2 separate regions of the Homo sapiens genome follow, and region 1 is linked to region 2. Evidence: promoter capture Hi-C in human tissues and cell types (Jung and others, 2019). All regions are on one chromosome and are shown on one strand. Each heading gives the region's core, a stretch centred on a gene start or on the middle of the fragment in contact. The rest is flanking DNA. Distances are from core to core; before and after follow the strand shown.

Evidence for each region. Contacts are between HindIII fragments. The study calls those that stand out against the background at their distance.
Region 1: a contact is called between a fragment that was not itself captured here and the fragment with the promoter of UBE2E2 in region 2, in 2 of the 25 tissues and cell types used here (lymphoblastoid cells and spleen).

Annotation. Positions count from the first base shown.
Region 1 is chr3:23,766,070-23,771,968 of GRCh38, forward strand. No RefSeq gene overlaps it. Among named protein-coding and RNA genes, the nearest start is that of UBE2E1, 37 kb to the right of the region's middle. The HindIII fragment of the contact is 6,533 bases long and covers 331-5,899 here.
Region 2 is chr3:23,199,164-23,205,467 of GRCh38, forward strand. UBE2E2 (ubiquitin conjugating enzyme E2 E2) reads left to right here and starts at 4,164. Exons shown (of 6, transcript NM_152653.4): 1 at 4,164-4,301. It overlaps UBE2E2-DT (UBE2E2 divergent transcript), which reads right to left and starts at 3,830. Exons shown (of 2, transcript NR_136176.1): 1 at 3,701-3,830. RefSeq lists enhancers at 2,837-3,812, 3,225-3,284 and a silencer at 3,635-4,324. The HindIII fragment of the contact is 11,420 bases long and covers 1,974-6,304 here.

The sequences.
Region 1 (5,899 bases), core at 2,347-4,846, 570 kb after region 2:
AAGCAGAGAATCAGTAAAGCTTTAGCTTTCTTTTTCTTCTTCTTTCTTCTATTTTTTGAAACAGAGTCTTGCTGTGTCACCCAGGCTAGTGTTCAGTGGCGCAATCTTGGCTCACTGCAAGCTCCACCTCCCGGGTTCACGCCATTCTCCTGCCTCAGCCTCCCAAGTAGCTGGGACTACAGGTGCCCGCCACCATGCCAGGCTAATTTTTTGTACTTTTTAGTAGAGACGGGGTTTTACCGTGTTAGCCAGGATGGTCTCAATCTCCTGACCTCGTGATCTGCCCGCCTCGGCCTCCCAAAGTGCTGGGATTACAGGTGTGAGCCACTGCGCCTGGCCCTTTTTCTTCTTCTTTTTGAGACAGTCTCACTCTGTTGCTCAGGCTAGAGCGCAGTAGCACAATCACTGCTCACTGCAGCCTCTATCTCCAGGCTCAAGCAATCCTCCTACCTCAGCCTCCCAAGTAGCTGGGACTACAGGTGTGCAGCACCACTCCTGGCTAATTTTTTTTTTTTTTTTTTTTTAAGTAGAGAGGGGATCTCATCATGTTGCCCAGGCTGGTCTCGAACTCCTGGGCTGAAGCTATTCTCCTGCCTTGGCCCCTCAAAGTGCTGAAATTGTAGGCATCCCACAGGCCAAAGCTTTGTCTGAGATGAGAGAAAGCCTGATCCTGAGCCTGGCAGTCCTCCAGAAACAGTGCATCTCAGAGATCCTTGAACTAACATCCAGTCATGCAAAACGATATCTTATAGTCTCTCGTCTCTCCAGGAGGTAGATTTCCCCCTTTGTCCTTTGTCTTCCTTTCTTTTTCTTTCTTTTTTTTTTTCCGAGATGGAGTCTTGCTCTGTTGCCCAGGCTGGAGTACAATGGCGCTATCTCGGCTCACTGCAACCTCTGCCTCCTCAGTTCAAGTGATTCTTCTGTCTCAGCCTCTCGAGTAGCTGGGATTACAGGCACGCGCCACCAGGCCCAGCTAATTTTTGTACTTTTTTTTTTTTAGTAGAGATGGGGTTTCACCATGGTGGCCCGGCTGGTCTCAAACTCCTGACCTCAGGTGATCTGCCTGCCTTGGCCTCCCAAAGTGCTGGGATTACAGGCGTGAGCCATCTTGCCCGGCCTCCCCATTTGTCTTTATTTTACTTTATTTATTTTTTAAGAGATTTTCTTCATCTGTTGCCCAGACTGGAGTGCAGTGGTGCAATCATAGCTCACTGCAGCCTCGAACTCCTGAGTTCAAGGGATCCTCCTGCCTCAGCGTCCCAAGTCACTGGGATTACAGGCATGTGCCACCACACCAGGATCCCCTTTTCCTTTAAAGCTACGCATTTGAAGTATTGCTTAACAAACTTTTCTGATCAGGAGACTCATCTGGAGAATTCACATTCCAGGGCCTCACCATAGAGTCATTGAATTAATCTCCACTAAGGGAAGCAAGAGAACTGGAATTATTTAATAAGTAGTCCCAGATGGTTGTTATAGTTAGAAAAGTTTAGGTATCTCTGCATTAAAGCAGCATTACCCAAATTTTAATAGGCCTGCCAATCACCTGGGGATCTTGTTGAAATGCAGATTCTGGTTCAGACTTCTAGGCTGGCCTGAGAGTCTGCATTTCTCACAAGTTCCCAGGGAGTACCAAGTGGCTGGTTGGGGGACCACATTCTCAGGAGGAAGAGGAACTAACAATGGTGTGAACCGAATGTAGAGGCCTTAGTTATAATCCTCATTCATTGTCTATCAGTGCTTTATGACTTTGCAGAACTTTCACACTCGTATCCTCTTTTAACCATCAAAACTAGCAATCAGGCAGACTTCTGTAAGGAAAATTGCAGTTTCCCATGGATGCCCATTTATAAAAGGGAGACCATGCTCACTCATGCATGTAGTCAACAAATGGATTGTGCACCCATAGAGCTGCTAATGATGCCCCCAAAGGGGAAGAGAAAGGCTGGGCACATGGGTTCTCTCCACCTGCCCAGGGCTGGGTTTCTTATTATGGAAGTGCTTTAATAGCACTTTTAAACTGTGTCATCCTTTACAAAAATTTTCACTCTGGAAACTTCCATTAAGCTGCCTATGCCAGTCATTCTAACCATCTGAGTTCACACGCAGGTCTGGCCTGTTGGATGAAGCTCACTCATCACTTCCCTACTTTTGTGCACTTAGGTGTCCTTCTGCCTGAGTATGCACATACTAATTTTTTTTTTTTTTACTTTGAAATAATTTTAGACTTTGAGGAGAGTTGTAAGAACAGTACAAACCATAAAATGATGCAGCCACTTTAGAAAACAATTTGGTAGTTTCTTTAAAAGTTAAATATACATTCACCATATGATACAGCAATTTCACTCCTAGCTATATACCAAAAGAATTAAAAACAGGTGCTCAAACAAATTCTTGTATGTGAATGTTCATAGTAGCACTGTTCATAATAGCCAAAAAGCAGAAACAACCCAAGTGCCCATCAACGGATGAATGAAAAAACAAAATAGGTACATTTGTACAATGAAATATTATTCAACTATAAAAAGGAATGAAGTATTGATGCATGCTACAGTGAGGATGGAACTCAAAAACATGTTAAGTAAAAAAAGCCAGACACAAAAGGCCCCATATTGCATGATTCCATTTATATGAAATACCCAGAATAGGTACATCCATAGAGATAGAAGATAGCTTGGCGGTTGCTAGGGACTCATGGGAAGGGGAAATGGGACATGACTGTTTAATAGGTCTGAGGTTTCCTTCTGGAGTTCGTAGAGGTGGTAGTTGCACCACATTGTGAATGTTTTTTGTTTTTTGTGTTTTTTTTGAGACGCATTCTCACTCTGTCACACAGATCGTGCAGTGGCGCGATCTTGGCTCATTGCAAGCTCTGCCTCCTGGGTTCATGCCATTCTCCTGCCTCAGCCTCCTGTGTAGCTGGGACTATAGGTGCCTGCCACCACGCCTAGGTTTTTGTATTTTTAGTAGAGACAGGGTTTCACCCTGTTAGCCAGGATGCTCTTGATCTCCTGACCTCGGGATCTGCCCGTCTCAGCCTCCCAAAGTGCTGGGATTACAGGCGTGAGCCACCACGCCCAGCCATGAATGTATTAAAGGTCACTGAATTGTACACTTTAAAATGGTGAATCTGACCAGGCATGGTGGCTCAAGCCTATAACCCAATACTTTGGGAGGCTAAGGTGGGAGGATTGCTTGGGGCCAGGAGTTTGAGTTCAGCCTAGGCAACACAGCAATACTCCCTCTCTATATAAAATAAAAATTTAAAAATTAGCCAGGTGTGGTGGCACGCACCTGTAGTCCCAGTTACTTAGGAGACTGAGATAGAAGGATCACTTGAGCCCAGGAGTTTGAAGTTCACATTCATATTCTCTTTCAACCATCAAAACTATTGTATGACATAGATATTATCCCCTTTTTACATACAAGGGTCCCAGTAAACCATGATCATGCCACTGTACTCTAGCCTGGGTGGCAGAGCAAGACTTTGTCTCTAAAAAATAAAATAAAATAATTAATTTTATCTTATGTGAATTTCACCTCAATTTCTTAAAACTGCACGTAGGGCCGGGTACAGTGGCTCATGCCTGTAATCCCCGCATTTTGGGAGGCTGAAGCGGGCGAATCACAAGGTCAGGAGTTCAAGACCAGCCTGGTCAACATAGTGAAAACTGTCTCTACTAAAAATACAAAAATTAGCAGGGCGTGGTGGCAGGCACCTGTAATCCCAGCTACTGGGGAGGCTGAGACAGGAGAATCGCTTGAACCCGGGAGGTGGAGGTTGCAGTGAGCCAATATCACTGCACTCTAGCTTGGGTGACAGAGCGAGACTCTGTCTCAAAAAGTAAAACTGCACTTAGACTTGTGGTAGTCTATGTTTGTTGAACCATTTATACCAACCAAATATTTCAGCATGTATACCCTAAAAACAAATACATTATCTCATATGGTTCTGGGAAAATGATCAAATTCAGAAAGTTGAACATTCATGCAATACTATGATTTAAGCTACAGTCCACATTCAAATTTTGCCAGTTTCTCAATGATGTTATTTAAAGCAATTTTCTGGCCAATTTAGAATCCAAGATCATAAAATACATTTAGGTGCCAAGCCTCTTCTTTAATCTGGAAGCACCTCTCAGTGTTTAAATGTTTTTTATTGATTTATTTTTTGTTCTTTCCTGACATTGCCATTTTTGAAGGGTACAGGCCTGTTGCTTTGCAAACTGTCTCTTCTTTTGGGTCTGTCTACTGTTTCCTCATGAGTAGAGTCAGGTTATGCATCTTTTGTAGGAATACCCCGGAATTGACACTGTCCTTCTTCATGCGTCACATCAATCTGTCCCATTAATGATTATGTCCACTTTAATCACTTGGATTAGGTGGTGTCTGCCAGGTTTCTCCACTGCAAAACTTTTTTTCCTCTTTGTACTTAACAATAGTGTATGCTGGCTAAAAAGGAGAAACCCCGTCTCTACTAAAAATACCAAAAAAAATTAGCCGATCGTGGTGGCGGGCGCCTGTAGTCCCAGCTACTCGGGAGGCTGAGGCAGGAGAATGGCGTAAGCTTGGGAGGCGGAGCTTGCAGTGAGCCGAGATTGCGCCACCGCACTCCAGCCTGGGCGACAGAGTGAGACTCCGTCTCAAAAAAAATAAATAAATAAAAATTAGAAAAAAAATAGTGTATGCTATTTCTAAGGTCTAACAAAACTAATTCATAAAATCATTTTTTTTGGTGCCAGCTGCTATTTTTATCACTCAGCCATTCATTCAATCTCTACCTAGTCCAGGGTGGACATAAAGCTATAGTGCATAGAATAGTCCTTGCCTTCAAAGAACTCATTGCTCTGTCAGGGAGCCAGGTTCTAAAGCCCCCAAACTCTGGAGTATCAAGTCTGTTCTTTATATTAGCTATGTTTTAAAGTCAATTCTGGCCAGGCGAGGGGACTCACACCTCTAATCCTGGCACTTTGGAAGGCCGAGGCGGGAGGATCACCTGAGGTCAGGAGCTCAAGATCAGCCTGGTCAACATGACAAAACCCCGTCTCTGCCAAAAATACAAAAATTAGCCGGCTGTGGTGGTGGGTGGCTGTAATCCCAGCTACTCGGGAGGCTGAGACAGGGGAGTTGCTCAAACCTGGGAGGCAGAGGTTGCAGTGAGCCAAGATTGCGCCACTGCACTCCAGCCTGGGTGACAGAGTGAGACTCCTTCTCAAATAAATAAATAAATTCTGTAAGCTGAATGCAAAAGAGAGCTGTATGAGAACCAAAGACAGAGCATAATCATGTTGGCCGTGAAAACCAAGCAGTTGTTAAACTCTCATAAACACTAGAGCTAATGAGTGTAGAATATTCCACTGGATTGAGCAAAGAGCTGAAATAATAACACATAGGCTCATGCACAGACTTTTGTTGTAAAACCTATTTCAATATTTTGTGCCTTTGGCATAATAATTGCTTTTTTTATAGTTTAATATTTTTAATAGACTGATTCTTGAATTGTTGGAATAAAACTTGAATTAAAAGGGATACTGAGAGAGTAATGATAAATAAGTACCCAACCTGGAGGCACAGTTAAGCTGCTGTTATGTGACTGCCAATGGACTTGTTTTCACTTATTCACTTTCCCTTGTGTGATTAATCTTTATTGTCCCCAGTGTGAATTGTCAAAAGGAGGGGGGGAAGCATACTGACAAAAATACATTTCTTGTGCAACTCCTAAGTATTTATCATACTGTGTTGCTTTATTAATTTTGAGTGCTGGGAAAATGGTAAAAATACAATGTAGAATTAAAGAATAACATATATATGTGTAAAATCTCAGATATTTGAAAAGATTATAGCCTCAGTTTCTAACAATTTTGCAGCAGTTTCTAATAAATGCACTGCACCATCATCG
Region 2 (6,304 bases), core at 2,914-5,413:
CCACAGCCAGTTCTTCGTTTCTTACTCCTGTGGTATCTAAAGACAGCCCCTCAGAACCACTTTTCTTTTTTTTCCTGGCCTGTGCTGTCTCTTGAGATCCTTTACTTATGTCTCAGTACCTCCTTAAGCCTCTATGTTTGCAGTTACTGAGAAGTTAGGTGCAATAGTCCATTTCAGGAGTTAGTGGGACTCCTCTCCCTGGAAGACCTACCATGACAGCAACCTCCTTGATACATGGAGAACTTGAGGGGGAACTTCATCATTAGTGAGCAGAGAGCATGGTGTAGTAATCATCTATTGATGCATAACAAATTACCCTTAAAACTTAGTGGCTGAAAATAACAAACATTATCTCCAGATTCCAGAGTGGCTTAGCTGGGTGTTTCTGGCTCAAGGACTTTCAAGAGTTTGCAGTTAAGATGTTGATCAGGGCTTCATTATCTGAAGGCTTAGCTAAGGCTGAAGGATCTGCTTTAAAGCTTACACATGTGGATGTTAGCGGGTCTTATTTTTTAGTCACATGGGCCTCTCCACAGGGCTGCTCACAATATGGCAGCTAGCTTTCCCCAGAGTCAGTGACAGCAAAGAGAGAGAGAGAGCATCAGTGTGTGCGCAACCAAGATGGAAGCCCTAAACTAATCTTGGAAGTGACATACCCTCCTTTCTCACAGCATTACACCAACCCTAGCATGACGTAGGAGGGGATTACACAAGGGTGTGAATACCAAGAGGCAGGGATCAGTGGGACATCTTAGAGACTGATTACCATACTCAGGCAACGTCTAGGGGTGAGAGGAGCAGCCACACTTCTATGTTTGCATCTTAATTTACATGAATGGCACCCCCTGATACTTTGCAGTGTACAAAATACACGATCATACATAGTGGTCCAGGTAGCAGTTCCTGAACAAATGGGGAAGTCAGGGGAATTTGTCCTCAGTACACTTCTATTCCCTGCTAGAATTTCATTTATTTATTTATGAAACAAACATTTTTTTAAAGCACCTGGTCGTACCTTTGCGTTGGTACTGAACTAGGTAGGTAATGGGGTTGCAGTTCTATTGGAGTTTCAATTTTCCTACACCACTGTTGCCCTTAAGTATCCAAAACATTCGGGGTGACTACAGCCTCCTTCAAGCCAGACAGTATGCAACAGATCATTGTTTTCTATCCCATTCTTTGGAAAACCTGAGCTAATATGATGTTTCTTTCAAAGGGTATAATATAAATATGTAATAACCCCTGATAATTGGGTGCCTAACAAGAACAGAAGTTGCCTAAATAAGTAGCAGGGCTCTACCAGTATAATGCTTCTGCTCAAATTCAGCCCAGTTCCCCTGAGAGAGGTCTTTTCTATCACCCATCCAGTCAAACTGGAAAACTAACTGTGGCTCTACTTACTCACGAAGTTGGCAGTAACAACGTTTTAAGAAGGACCCTTCAAAAAACATTCCAATTTGCCAGTTGCAGGGGGAAAAAACGTAGGCTCTAAATTAATGATCAGAAATAAGAAATGTAAGAAAGGAGTGAGTTCATGACGACAGACTGATGGACCAGAGCAGAAAATATAAGGAAGATGAGCTATTTGTCTTGGAGACCAAGTTTGCACCGCAGAAGAGAGAAATAGAGAAAATCAAATAAATATTTATGTCTGTAACACCAGACTCATGGTAAAGTGTCCTTAAGTTCACAGACTCCAGAGCCAAACTGCTGATTTCGAGTCCCAGCTCTGCTCCTCACTAGCTATGTGACTGTAGGTGAGTGACTTAATCCCTCCGTACCTCAGTATTCTCATCTGTACAGTGGGGCTGATTGGATAAAACCAACCTGTGTGGTGGTTGTGACCTAGTATAACTAAAGTGCTTAGCATGCTGCCTAGCACAAATTAAGAACACGGTAAGTACTAATTATTGAAGAAATTAGAAACAATACCTATTGTGTCATCAACTGAAAGAGACCAATTTCTTTCACTCGGTCATTATCTATTGAATATATACAGCACTGAACCCCAGACGACGAAATCCTTTTTCTCAAGGTGCTTTTACGTGGGAGGGCTGGGAGAGGGAGGAAAAAGAAAGCAGAAGGGGGAAACTAATAAATAAGTAAAAAAATGTATTATGTCAGGTGGTGATCATGGAGAAAAAGCAGAGGATGTGGATAGGAAGTTCTGGGGGAGGAGTGGGAGGAAAGAATGTTCTAGAGATAGGAAATAGTAAGTACACAGGTCTTGAGGCTGAGGAATGCTTGGTGTGTCCATAACTGCAAGGCCGGTGTGGCTGGAAGGAGACGAGGATGGAGTGAAATCGTACAGCTTGAGGTCAGGGGAATCCTGGCTGGGAATGGTGGGCACATCATGCAGGCCATGTATCCATATTTTGCACTTTGGCTGTTGCTCTATGATGGGAAGCCACTGGAATTTTTGAGAAGAAGAGAGACATAATCTAATCTTTGTTTTAAAGGACAGTCGGCTGTGTGTAGGTGTTGGGGAGGGAGGAGGCGGAGAGTGGGAGGTAGAAAGATCAGGTAGGAGATAATTATTGAGAGATGATGCCTTAGACCAGGACATTAGCAGTGGGGAGGGGAGTGAGACGGAGTGGACATTTTCACCATATATTTGTGAAAACAGAGTCAACAGAATTTGCTGACGAATGTGATGCTGAGTGTACAACAGAGAAGGTTCAGACATAGGGAAGTTCTGAGGACAAGGATTTTTTTCTTTTATTCAATGTCATATATCTACCACCTAGACAGTGCCTGGTATCAATAAATATTCCTTGAATAAATGAAAAGGGTAACTGATTTGTATTAAACCCATTTTGAACTTAGTAAATAGCAGTTAAAACATCTACAGTCAAATGAAGTACTGTAGCAACCATAATTTCAGCAATTAAGCAGTGAAAGATCTTCCAATCCTTTCCTCCACAAAGATAGAAGTTAATTTTGCTGCATCCCTGGACACCCCGTTGCCAACGACCCAGCATTCCGTTGGTAAGTGAGGCTGGAGGTTGGAGTGGGAGAAATTTCGTGGAAGCTAAGTTCGCAAAGCAGGTACGTTTTTTTTTTTTTTTTAAACGGTTATTTGGGATGAGGAGTACAACGGAACCTAATGTTCCCTCATGCCACCTACAGCACTGCTACTGTTCCCATATCCTTCAACTGGGCATGAAGGCAGCTTCCCACTCACTCTGACAGTGGTGCACCCTGTACCCCCACCCCTCTCTTCAATACCCCAGGGCTAAACGGCCCGAAGCTCCTCTCTACCGGCTGGTGCGCATTCTGGGCCAGGGCGAGCCAAAAGGCAGAAGGGCCTTCGTGCTGCAGTGTCTGGTGAAGACTCAGGCTTAGCCTGGAAGAAGTTTCCAGGCCAACGTGAAGTTTTCCTGTCTTGGGTACATGCGAGCCCCACGCGTCTGCGAGTTTGGGTTAGTGTGTCAACAGGGTCAGTCCCCGTATCTACTTTGCGAAAGCTTCGAGGCGAGCGTGAAGTCAAGGGCTGCGGTGGATGGGGGTAAAAGGCCTCCTCGTCCCACTGCCTGCACCGTCTTGGGGTAACCCCTAACCCCCAGCCGGCGTTTCCCTTTAATGCGCGTGCCCGGCAAGGTCCTCGCGTCCCCTCCCCTCAAGCCACCCCGTCAGCCTCGGTTTCCCCCACTTCTCCCCGTCCTTGTCGTTCCTTCCCCGTGGGACGCCCCTCGCTCACCCCCGTCAGAGCCCAGTCTGCGCGCGGGACCCAGCTGTCACTTTACTTTTCCTCGCCGCCTCCCCACCCCCTCTCCCGACCGGCGGGGCAGCCCGCCCGGGCGCGCTCCCGCCCCCGCCCCCTCGCGGCCGCGCGCCGGAGGAGGAGGGGCGGGGGGAGGAGGGAGGCGCGCGGCGCCGCATGGCCGACGTGGGGCTCGCGCTCTCGCGGTCTCTCCCGGGCGGGCGCGCAGGCACGCGCACTCGCGGGTGCGCGCGCGGACGGCCGGGCGGCGGCGGCTCCCGGAGGTGGTGGCTTCACTTTCCAGGACTCAGGGGCAGCCACAGCGACAGCCGCGGGCAGCAGCCTCAGGAGCCGGAGCTGGAACGGCCGGGGGCGGCGGCAGCGGCGGCGCTGAGGGTGAGTCCGGGCGGGCGCGAGCGCGGCGGGGACAGGCGTGGTCGGGTGCGTGGTGCGTGGGTCCGGCTTTCGGTGACTAGACGGTCCGCAGGGGACATCCCGTCCCTGGGGCCTCCCCAGTCTCCCTCCCCCTCGCGCCTGGGCAGCTCTCTCCCAGGGCTTCGGCTCGAGCCTGCGACCTGCACGGACACCCCCCCCTCAGGTATTCGCTCGGGCCGCGCCGGTGCCTCCCCTCCTCGGGCGTCCTCCCTCTCGCTGACGTCCTCCTCACTCCCCCGACCTCCCCTCCGCGTCGCAGGTCTCTGCTTACACCGCTCGTGCCCTAGTTCCCTCCTTCCTCGCTCCCCGTGCCCGGTTCCCTACGCCCCCTCCCGCGAGCCTCCTGCCCCCGTTTCTCGCCCTTTCTACCCCTCCCCCTTCTTCCCATCCCCCCCTTCTGCCTCTTCTCTCCCTGTCCTCCTTCTACCCCCTTCCGTTCTCAGTTCCCCATCCTTCTCAACCCTCCCAGCGCTTTCCTTCTCCTAGCCGCATCCTGGAACTAAGTCTTTTCAAAAGTACAGGATAAATGTCACGGTGGAAAGTGCCCGGCTTGATCTTTTGCTATTTTCCCTAATTGCATAATTGCTGCACATGGTGTGTCTCCTGGCGAGTGCCGGGTTTGGCTCCTTCGCCGCCGCACCCCGGTGGCCCGCCCGGAGAAGACCTTGTGGGGTATATTTGTGTGTGTCCTGGTGAGGGGTGTGTGTTGTATTGGTCTTTTGTGATGCCTGGCGCTTGTCACAGTTTGGAACCGAAGCCCATTTTTCTCTGGTCTCTTCTCTGCAGCCCCCACTGGCCTGGTTTGAAACTGGATTCCCTCTGTCCTCTCCCCCTTCCCGCCCACCCCACTTCTCCCCCTCTTTTCTCCGATCTCTCTCATAATGTTTTGATCTTTTTGCCCTTTACCATTTCTAATGAAGATAAAGCGTGGCTTCTTGTGGCTTTTTTCCCCCACGACCAACCAGAAATGTCCAATCCATCTTCCCTTAAGGAAATTAAGGCTGCTTTAGAAAGACATCATCCTGTGCTCGGTGGCTGTTAGACCCATTTGCATGTTTTCAAGATTCATCGTTTTGTATTGTGTATTCTTGAGAGTCTACTAAAATATTTTTATTTAAAAGTACGAAAGGAAGTGCTAGGGTTTACCCTCAAAGTATCTCGCGGTTCTAAAGGATTTTACGCTCTTCTTAGTTTTTAATCCCTGATTTCTTTAAAAAGTATGTTTCTAGATATGTGATAATTCAGTCTGGACTTTGTGAATCTAAATATTTGCCTTTACTACGGCAATTTGGATGCTCCTTGGCTCTTTGGAATTCTGTATGTGGGCTGACGCTGAAATAGAGTGTTTTCATATAATGCCATACCCCATTCTCTTTCCCCTGCAGCACCTTTTACCCCCAAATCAGGTGTTCCACTGTTATTTTCTGCATAAATGTCTTTGCAGTTAAATTTAAAGCTGGATATTGCTGTGTGCATATACTATATATTTATTTTACATTTTAGAAAAGTTTAGAAACATGAGTAGGAAGACAGCAAGACATATATGACAGAATTAAACGCTTTCCTGTTATAAAAGCTTAAATGAACACTTGGTTTTGCAGTTTTATACTAGTAGATACTGTTATAAGGCTTACCTGGGTAGTAGGCTGGATTTATGGAATGACTATAGTTGCCTTTATGTAGTCAGTAATATTTCAAGCCAAATCATTTCATTTTTATGGAACATGTGAGTTTCATTCACTGTATGTTGCTAATTTCCAGGACTGTAATTACAACATAGGGTACATAGCTAATACAAGCTTAGACAGTTTGTGTTGAAGAAGTAACAATATGTAAGCCTCTTAATATAGTTTTAGGAAGGACTACTTATTTTATGGTTAAAAATTAAATTTTACTTTGAGTTATGAAGTAAGCGTATTTATCTCTCTCAATATCTTTGAAAGTATCATTGGAGAGTAGCTGTTTGTTTATAACCCTGGGATTTAAGTTTATCTTCCCTGTAGATGAGATAATCGGATCAGATTAGCTATTTAGGAATTAATTTTAAAATGCTAATTTAGAAGATAATGTTTAAAGGATTTTAATTCAGGAATTTTTATTCATTTGTACTTCAGAGAGACAAGACATCAAGTTTACACTTACGACTAATTAAATTGATTCATAGAC